3 separate regions of the Homo sapiens genome follow, and all the other regions are linked to region 3. The links are contacts of gene promoters, found by promoter capture Hi-C in human tissues and cell types (Jung and others, 2019). All regions are on one chromosome and are shown on one strand. The core of a region is centred on a gene start or on the middle of the fragment in contact, and the rest is flanking DNA. Distances in the headings are between cores, read along the strand shown.

Evidence for each region. The method cuts DNA at HindIII sites, captures the fragments that hold promoters and counts their contacts. A contact is called where the count stands out against the background at its distance.
Region 1: a contact is called between a fragment that was not itself captured here and the fragment with the promoter of UBC in region 3, in 1 of the 25 tissues and cell types used here (hippocampus).
Region 2: a fragment that was not itself captured here is called in contact with the fragment with the promoter of UBC in region 3 in 1 of the 25 tissues and cell types used here (IMR-90 fibroblasts).

What each region holds. Positions count from the first base shown.
Region 1 is chr12:124,041,073-124,043,772 of GRCh38, forward strand. All of the region lies in intron 2 of ZNF664-RFLNA (ZNF664-RFLNA readthrough), which reads left to right. Among named protein-coding and RNA genes, the nearest start is that of ZNF664-RFLNA, 69 kb to the left of the region's middle. The HindIII fragment of the contact is 4,891 bases long and covers 1-2,700 here.
Region 2 is chr12:124,391,543-124,394,242 of GRCh38, forward strand. The region is part of intron 18 of NCOR2 (nuclear receptor corepressor 2); the gene reads right to left. Among named protein-coding and RNA genes, the nearest start is that of MIR6880, 56 kb to the left of the region's middle. RefSeq lists an enhancer at 411-1,100. The HindIII fragment of the contact is 4,462 bases long and covers 1-2,700 here.
Region 3 is chr12:124,913,400-124,916,099 of GRCh38, forward strand. UBC (ubiquitin C) reads right to left here and starts at 1,251. Exons shown (of 2, transcript NM_021009.7): 1 at 1,188-1,251; 2 at 1-375. The coding sequence starts at 372. MIR5188 (microRNA 5188) reads left to right here and starts at 2,148; the gene lies at 2,148-2,260. RefSeq lists enhancers at 548-1,505, 830-1,279, 2,604-2,700 and a silencer at 1,490-1,829. The HindIII fragment of the contact is 8,951 bases long and covers 1-2,700 here.

The sequences.
Region 1 (2,700 bases), core at 146-2,645, 870 kb before region 3:
GGATGAGGCTTTATACCAGTCAGGGATTTTGCTTGCAAACAGTAGAAATTAACTGGCTAACTTGAGCAGAATAGGACCTTTCTAGAAGGATATTGGGCAGCGTTTGGAATGGAGAATCAGGTTTTATTTTATCATTTTTTTTCTATTTGTTTTTGAGATGGAGTCTCGCTCTGTCACCCATGCTGGCATGCAGTGGCATGATCTCGGCTCACTGCAACCTCTGCCTCCTGCGTTCAAGAGATTCTCCTGCCTCAGCCTCCCAAATAGCTGCAATTACAGGCGCCCACCACCATGCCCAGCTAATTTTTTTGTATTTTTAGTAGAGACGGGGTTTCACCATGTTGGCCAGGCTGGTCTCAAACTCCTGGCCTCAAGTGATCTGCCTCCTTTGGCCTCCCAAAGTGCCGGGATTACAGGTGTGAGCCACTGCGCCCGACTGAGAGTCAGGCTTGTAAAACCGGTAAGACCAAGAGCAGCTAGGCAGGTCAAGGGTCACAGGTACAGGCTGATGTGGACGCCGCCATAAGTCCTGCCATTATCAGACATTGGCCACTGCCCTGGGCAATCTGTCCTGGTCTCTGGGGCCCTGCAGCCTCTGACACTTGCTGTCCTGATGGGCCTTTGGTGCTGTCCTGCTGCTGGGAAACTCCCCATCACTGGATCTCTGTGTCACAGCCTCAAGGGTCAGGTCCTTAGTGTGGGCATCTGTGTTAGCGCCCTGTAGTTGCCATATCAAAGCCCACGTGCCAGGTGTCTTATAATAGCAGAAGTTCACCCTCACAATTCTGGAGGCCAGAAGGCCACAGGGGCACGTACCCACTGAGGCCCTAGGGAGGAATGTGTTTTGTGCCTCTCAGCTTCCGGGGGCCGCGGCAACCCTCAGCTTCAGTGGGCTTGTGGATGTTTCACTCCTATCTCTGCCTCCATCTCCATGTGGCCATCTTCCTTCTGCGTGTGTCTCTGTGTCCAGATTTCCCTCTTCTTAGAAGGACACCAGTCATACTGGATTTAGGGCACACCCTAATCCAGTATGACCTCATCTGAACTTGATTACATCTGCAAAGTCCTTCTTGCAGATAAGGTCACATTCACAGGTACCAGGTTCCAGGCTGAGGCCACATGCCTACGCCACAGCTCCCGGGGCTGGGTTATCTGTACCTCAGCCTTCGTTGGCCGTAGCGGGTGGTGGGTCCCTGCCTCACAGCAAGCCCCACGGAATGGGGGGTTCCCCCAGATAGGAGGGATGCTTGACATTCATAAAAGAGGCTTTCCCCAACTATACGGCTTCTTGCAGCAATGAGATTACACCATTTCCATCAGCACACCAGTAAAATTGAACAATCACTAGGGAATATCTTTAATTCTTTCTTCTGCCTTTCTTTTTATTATCTTGTTTTAATCATGAATGATTGCGGAGAAATGTTGATCTGATGGACTCAAGTTGAATGGAGTCTTTCTCCCATGTGAGGACCGGAAGCCACCCACACAGATCTCTCTTCTATGGGAGGTGTTCTAGGGTCACCTTATTAATCCCAAATTCTGTCTTACCCTGAGTCGGAACTCTTTCAGCAGAAAACTGTATCTCTGTGGCGTTGAATATGAGGATAGGTTCCAGGAGCACCAGTAGACGGAATGTTTGCCCTGTCACAAGCATTTCTCCTGGCCTAGAGACTGGCAGGGGTTCCTGCATCCCTAAGCAGGGACCCCTGCACCAGGCGAAGGACGAGCCCCCTTCCAGCAACGCGGGATGAGCCAGGGCCTCTCCCCTACCCTGCTTGTCCTTCCTCTGCCCAGTACCCTGCGTGGCTGCTCAGGAGAGTGACGTGTGGAAGCCACTCGGGGTGAGCAGAGGGTCTCTTAGTGATGCTGTTTGTTTCCTGGGACGTGGGTCAGGGAGCCCCTACCCTGGTTGAGAACCACTGAGGTAGGCCGGGATTTTGGATTCCATCCCCAAATTAGAGGAACAGAGTGCATGCATGCCTTAGGCACTAGAGGTGCTTCCACTGGGCCCGTTTGCACAAGTCTGGCCTCTCCCTGTCTTTTGCTGCCACCTGTTTATCACTGGTCAAGAGAGGCCACCGAGGCCGGGCACAGTGGCTCATGCCTGTAATCTCAGCACTTTGGGAAGCCAAGGTAGGCAGATCACCTGAGGTCAGGAGTTCGAGACCAGCCTGGGCAACATGGCAAAACCCCGTCTCTACTAAAAATACAAAAAATAGCTGGGTGTGGCAGCAGGAACCTGTAATCCCAGGTACTTGGGACGCGGAGGCAGGAGAATCACTTGAACTTGGGAGGCGGAGCTTGCAGTGAGCCGAGATTGCGCCACTGCACTCCAGCCTGGGCAACAGAGTGAGACTCCATCTCAAAAAAAAAAAAAAAAGAGGAAAAAGAGAGGCCACCAAATGCACGATGGAGCTGCTAGGGATGACAGCACCGCACCAGAAGCAGAAGCCCCAGACTTCCCAAGGAGAAGACAAAGGAACAGCTCTCCTGTGTTCCTTCATATTTTTATTGTAGGTACCTCAGCTCCTTAATGAAACTTAAGTATTAGGAGAAGAGCAAAATTAACTCAACAAATATTTAAAGCCAGGCCCTGCTGTGAGAAGAGAAATGAACTTTTCTTTGGAAACAAAAATCTCTGCTGTCGCGGGGTCTGTCCTCTGGCAATGATGAGCTTGGTGCTGGATATAACATCATAAA
Region 2 (2,700 bases), core at 98-2,597, 520 kb before region 3:
CCCTTGACAGGCCGGGCACTCCTGCGTGTCTTGTCAGGACTTCCCGAACTCCTGCCATCCTGAAATCCTATCAGGATGTTGGCTGGATAACATCACACCTGGACTTGCACCTCCCCACTCTTTTCTCTCCATCTACTCTTTCAAAAATCAGCCTCGCTATCTGCCTTAGCCTCCGCATCAGCAATTATACCCGTAAATCATAGGTACGATGTGAAAAAGCTACGTCTTCTCCCAGCTCTCAAAAAAACCCAGACTCATTAAGATGAAATAAAGTCACCTGCATACGACCTGGCGCTGTCTCGCCTACCATTTCCGGAAGTGCCACGTTACACCTTTCAATGTCACGTTTTCCTACAGAGCAGAGCAAAGTTGGAAGCCAGCCTGGGGGGTCAGACAGACCACCCCATGCCCTGTGTCCACCGCAGTGGGCTGGGTGAGCACTGGCTCTCCCTCTGGCCTTGGTCTTCTCCTGTGCAAAGCAGAAGTCGTGTGTATGCGTGCGTGTGTACACACGCGTGTGGAGGGCCTGCCTTGTTCGTGAGCACCAGCCACGCCACGTGACGACAGGCATCATTACTACCGCATCGACCGCCAGGTGCTCCTTCCCTGAGTCAGGAGCCATGTGGATGCGGATTCATGGGTCTCCCCTAGGAGGGAAGGGGGGCTTGTTGATGCCTGATTTCATCTTCAAGGGTGCTGACAGGAGCAAGAGTGTGGTCCAGACCCTGCCCCTGTGTCTGGCTGTACCCCAAGTTCCTGCAGAAACCCCAATTTTTTCCTCCCTCCAAACCATCACAACAGACTGTTTCTCACATATCCGGCCGGGAGGCCAACCAGCCCCAGACATGCACCCTCCCTAGTGGTCTCTCTCCAGACCACACGTGGTGACAGTCTCCTTGGACGCGAGCCCCGAGGCACCGCACCGTCCCTGCCTGGTATACCACCCCTCCTGAGTCACACAGCTCGAGTGTCGCCTCCTGCTGGGCCCTGACGGACAGCTGCACCAGGAAGTAGCCGGGCAGACCCAAACCCAGGAGCAGCAGCACTGCCTACCGGCCCGCCCACCCCACTGTAAGCTCTGGCAGCTTTGTGCGGCAGAGCACACAGGCGCTCCTCTTTTGGGGGGCCCATGGTGGGCACAGCCCAAGGCTTTCCCAGTGGACATGTAGTGGAGGAGGTCCTGCTCTCCAGGCTCCAGGCTGGGGGCTCACCCCTCCCCTTCCCATGCCTTAGACGCTTCATCTATAAAAGCCCGTCAGGCCAGCCCATGTGCACAGCAATGGGTGGTTCCTGCCTCGCTCCTGTGAGAAGTGGCAAGGCCACTAGACAAGGCAGCTGGAGTCCTGGGGGAGGCCTCTGGGGTCTGCCCGGGCTTACTGGGAGCCACCAGGGCCTGGTCTTGCACATCCTCCCACTGTTGGCCGCTCCCTGGAGATTGGGAAGGACTGGCAGCCCGGAGGCGGGCCAGAGCCAACTCCCGGTCTAGAATGGTGTGACAATGGTGTGACCGGGAGCCTCCCAACCCCCTCCACAGCAGGTTCTCTGCCCGCCAGAGAAGAGGGCTGGGGCCTGGAGGAGCTGCCAGCAGAGCCTCGGGCCTCTCGCACAGCTGGGTCAGGCTTCCAAGCCAGGCCAGGCTGACCTTTCCCAGGGGAACCGAGTCCCTCATCCCAGCCCTGCTCCTGCCCTGCCCCTCCTTCCCCACTTGGCGCTGGGCCCGAGGGCAGGCGGCCAGCTCCCCGGAGCTGCCCGGTTCCTGGGGAAGCTGCCTCCTGAACATTCTCGGTCCTCAGGCAGCACAAGCCCCAGGGCAGGCAGCCACAGCCGCATGCACACAAGAAGGGAGGTTGCTCACTTGCCCACCAGAAACCCTATGGCCATCATGTCCCCAGCCCCTCCCCAGTGGCCTCCCACGCTCTAGAGTAATAGCTACACTCCATCCCATGCTGGCAAGGCCAGGCTCCCGGTGGCCCCTCTACCTTCTGGGATTCAACCACTTCTCATGGGGCCACACTGCCCCTGCCATGGGGCCTTTGCACATGCCTGTCCTGCCTTTGTTACCTGGTCAACAGGTTGGCCCATGGACTAACCTGTTCAGCTCTCATGCCAACCCCATTCCTACTCTGCAAGTAGAGTGCCTGGGTTCAAATCCCAGCTCTACCACTTCACAGCTGTGTGACCCTAGGCTGCTCACTAAGCCTCTCTAGGCCTCGGTTTCCTCATTTGAATAACAGAAGTATTAACAGCACCTGCCTCCTAGTCAGGTTGGTAGAGATAAAGTGACTTCATACACACAAAGCTTCCAGCAGTGCCCAGCACGCAGGATGGGCTCCACGGTGTTACTGGGTGATATTCACTATTATTTCGTGCTCTGGGTGTCGGCCCCTTCCTCGGGGTAGCCCTCTGACTGGTGGCCCCCAGCACCATGGAAGTTCCTCCAGTTGTCACTGTACATTTGCTTGGCAGGTGACTTACCTCCGACCCCCATCGCCGGGGCGAAGACAGAGGTGGCGGGGGCCGAGGCCCCAAAGTGTAGGTACCTGCTCAGGGTCAGACTCTGCAGGAGGCACAGCTGGGACCCAAACCTAGGGAGCAGGGTCTGGAGACTGCGCCCTAAGCTAGCGGCCTGCCATTTCTGAGTGCCTACTGTATACCAAGGACTGTTCCTATGTGGCTCGCTCCGTCTTTAAAGTGCCCCTG
Region 3 (2,700 bases), core at 1-2,500:
CTTTCCGGCAAAGATCAACCTCTGCTGGTCAGGAGGAATGCCTTCCTTGTCCTGGATCTTTGCTTTGACGTTCTCGATGGTGTCACTGGGCTCGACCTCAAGGGTGATGGTCTTGCCAGTGAGTGTCTTCACGAAGATTTGCATCCCACCTCTGAGACGGAGCACCAGGTGCAGGGTGGACTCTTTCTGGATGTTGTAGTCAGACAGGGTGCGCCCATCTTCCAGCTGTTTTCCAGCAAAGATCAGCCTCTGCTGGTCAGGAGGGATGCCTTCCTTATCTTGGATCTTTGCCTTGACATTCTCGATGGTGTCACTGGGCTCAACCTCGAGGGTGATGGTCTTACCAGTCAGAGTCTTCACGAAGATCTGCATTGTCTAACAAAAAAGCCAAAAACGGCCAGAATTTAGCGGACAATTTACTAGTCTAACACTGAAAATTACATATTGACCCAAATGATTACATTTCAAAAGGTGCCTAAAAAACTTCACAAAACACACTCGCCAACCCCGAGCGCATAGTTCAAAACCGGAGCTTCAGCTACTTAAGAAGATAGGTACATAAAACCGACCAGAGAAACTGACGCCTCACTTATCCCTCCCCTCACCAGAGGTCCGGCGCCTGTCGATTCAGGAGAGCCTACCCTAGGCCCGAACCCTGCGTCCTGCGACGGAGAAAAGCCTACCGCACACCTACCGGCAGGTGGCCCCACCCTGCATTATAAGCCAACAGAACGGGTGACGTCACGACACGACGAGGGCGCGCGCTCCCAAAGGTACGGGTGCACTGCCCAACGGCACCGCCATAACTGCCGCCCCCGCAACAGACGACAAACCGAGTTCTCCAGTCAGTGACAAACTTCACGTCAGGGTCCCCAGATGGTGCCCCAGCCCATCTCACCCGAATAAGAGCTTTCCCGCATTAGCGAAGGCCTCAAGACCTTGGGTTCTTGCCGCCCACCATGCCCCCCACCTTGTTTCAACGACCTCACAGCCCGCCTCACAAGCGTCTTCCATTCAAGACTCGGGAACAGCCGCCATTTTGCTGCGCTCCCCCCAACCCCCAGTTCAGGGCAACCTTGCTCGCGGACCCAGACTACAGCCCTTGGCGGTCTCTCCACACGCCTCCGTCCCACCGAGCGGCCCGGCGGCCACGAAAGCCCCGGCCAGCCCAGCAGCCCGCTACTCACCAAGTGACGATCACAGCGATCCACAAACAAGAACTGCGACCCAAATCCCGGCTGCGACGGAACTAGCTGTGCCACACCCGGCGCGTCCTTATATAATCATCGGCGTTCACCGCCCCACGGAGATCCCTCCGCAGAATCGCCGAGAAGGGACTACTTTTCCTCGCCTGTTCCGCTCTCTGGAAAGAAAACCAGTGCCCTAGAGTCACCCAAGTCCCGTCCTAAAATGTCCTTCTGCTGATACTGGGGTTCTAAGGCCGAGTCTTATGAGCAGCGGGCCGCTGTCCTGAGCGTCCGGGCGGAAGGATCAGGACGCTCGCTGCGCCCTTCGTCTGACGTGGCAGCGCTCGCCGTGAGGAGGGGGGCGCCCGCGGGAGGCGCCAAAACCCGGCGCGGAGGCCGCTGCACCGGGAGCGGGTGGGCGGCCCGCGTTCCTTAGCCGCGGCTCCGCGGCCCCTCCCCTCAGCCCCCGCGGTCCCCTCGGGTCGCGAACCCCGCGTTCGGCGGACGTGGGGCACGCAGCGAGCGCCTTCTGCAGAGTCGGGGTCTCCCTCCCCTCCCTCCTGACCCGCCCTGGCCCACCCTGCGAGATGGACGGGTCTTTATTTTTGGGTCACATTTGAGGTAATGACGGGGCTTCCTTTGCTCAGCCCCCTTCAACCTCCCTGAGCCTCCCAGGCCGGTCGCGGGGGGCTCCCGGGGCCGCGGGACAAGGACAATGACTCGGCAGATCTCAGGGCGGGCGTGGCCCTAAAGCTGGGGAACGCTCGAGAACTTTCCAGGGGAGACACTGCAGAGGAGCTGGGTGTCCAGGTTAAATTTGGAAAAAAGAGGCGGAAACCCCACACAGTTTTATTTTAGCTGGAACGCAAGGCTGAGCGAACGACATCCTTCTAGACTGTTCTTCCACCTTCCTGTACATTCTGAGGGCCAGGTATGGAAAGGTCCTACTTGATGCCAACAGGGAGGCATGGAAATTTCTCTGGTTTCAATGGGTACGATTATTGTAAGCAGGATCCATTCAATAATCGGACCCATTTAAACCGGAGATTTTAAAAGACAGGAATAGAATCCCAACCTTATTTCAGTGCAGGGTAGGGTGTCAAATATGAAATGTAATTCTACAGGGCAATTCTATTTTGGTAAAAGAAGTGGGGAGAAAAGCATCACCAGCCAGCTTTTTAAATTTTTACCACAACCTATTTTGTGATCCCTACGTGTCATTTCTTCAGTATATTTTTTAAATGTTTTAAAATATACGAACATGGTGAGATTTTTTAAATGTGTCTTTTTAAAGTGTACAGTGAAAAGTCTCCCTCATGCCCTCAATTTCCCAGCCACTGTTCCTTCTGGACTCTTCTACAAATAGTCCCTGTTTCTACAAATGTATTGGAGGTAGGGAGGCTATTTTGATTTCTACCCTTAAAAGCTTCAAAAAAAAGAGAAAAAGAGGCTACCAACTGAAAAATATTTTGCCATTAGGAAAAGGCTGCATTCTTGTTTTAAGTTATGAACA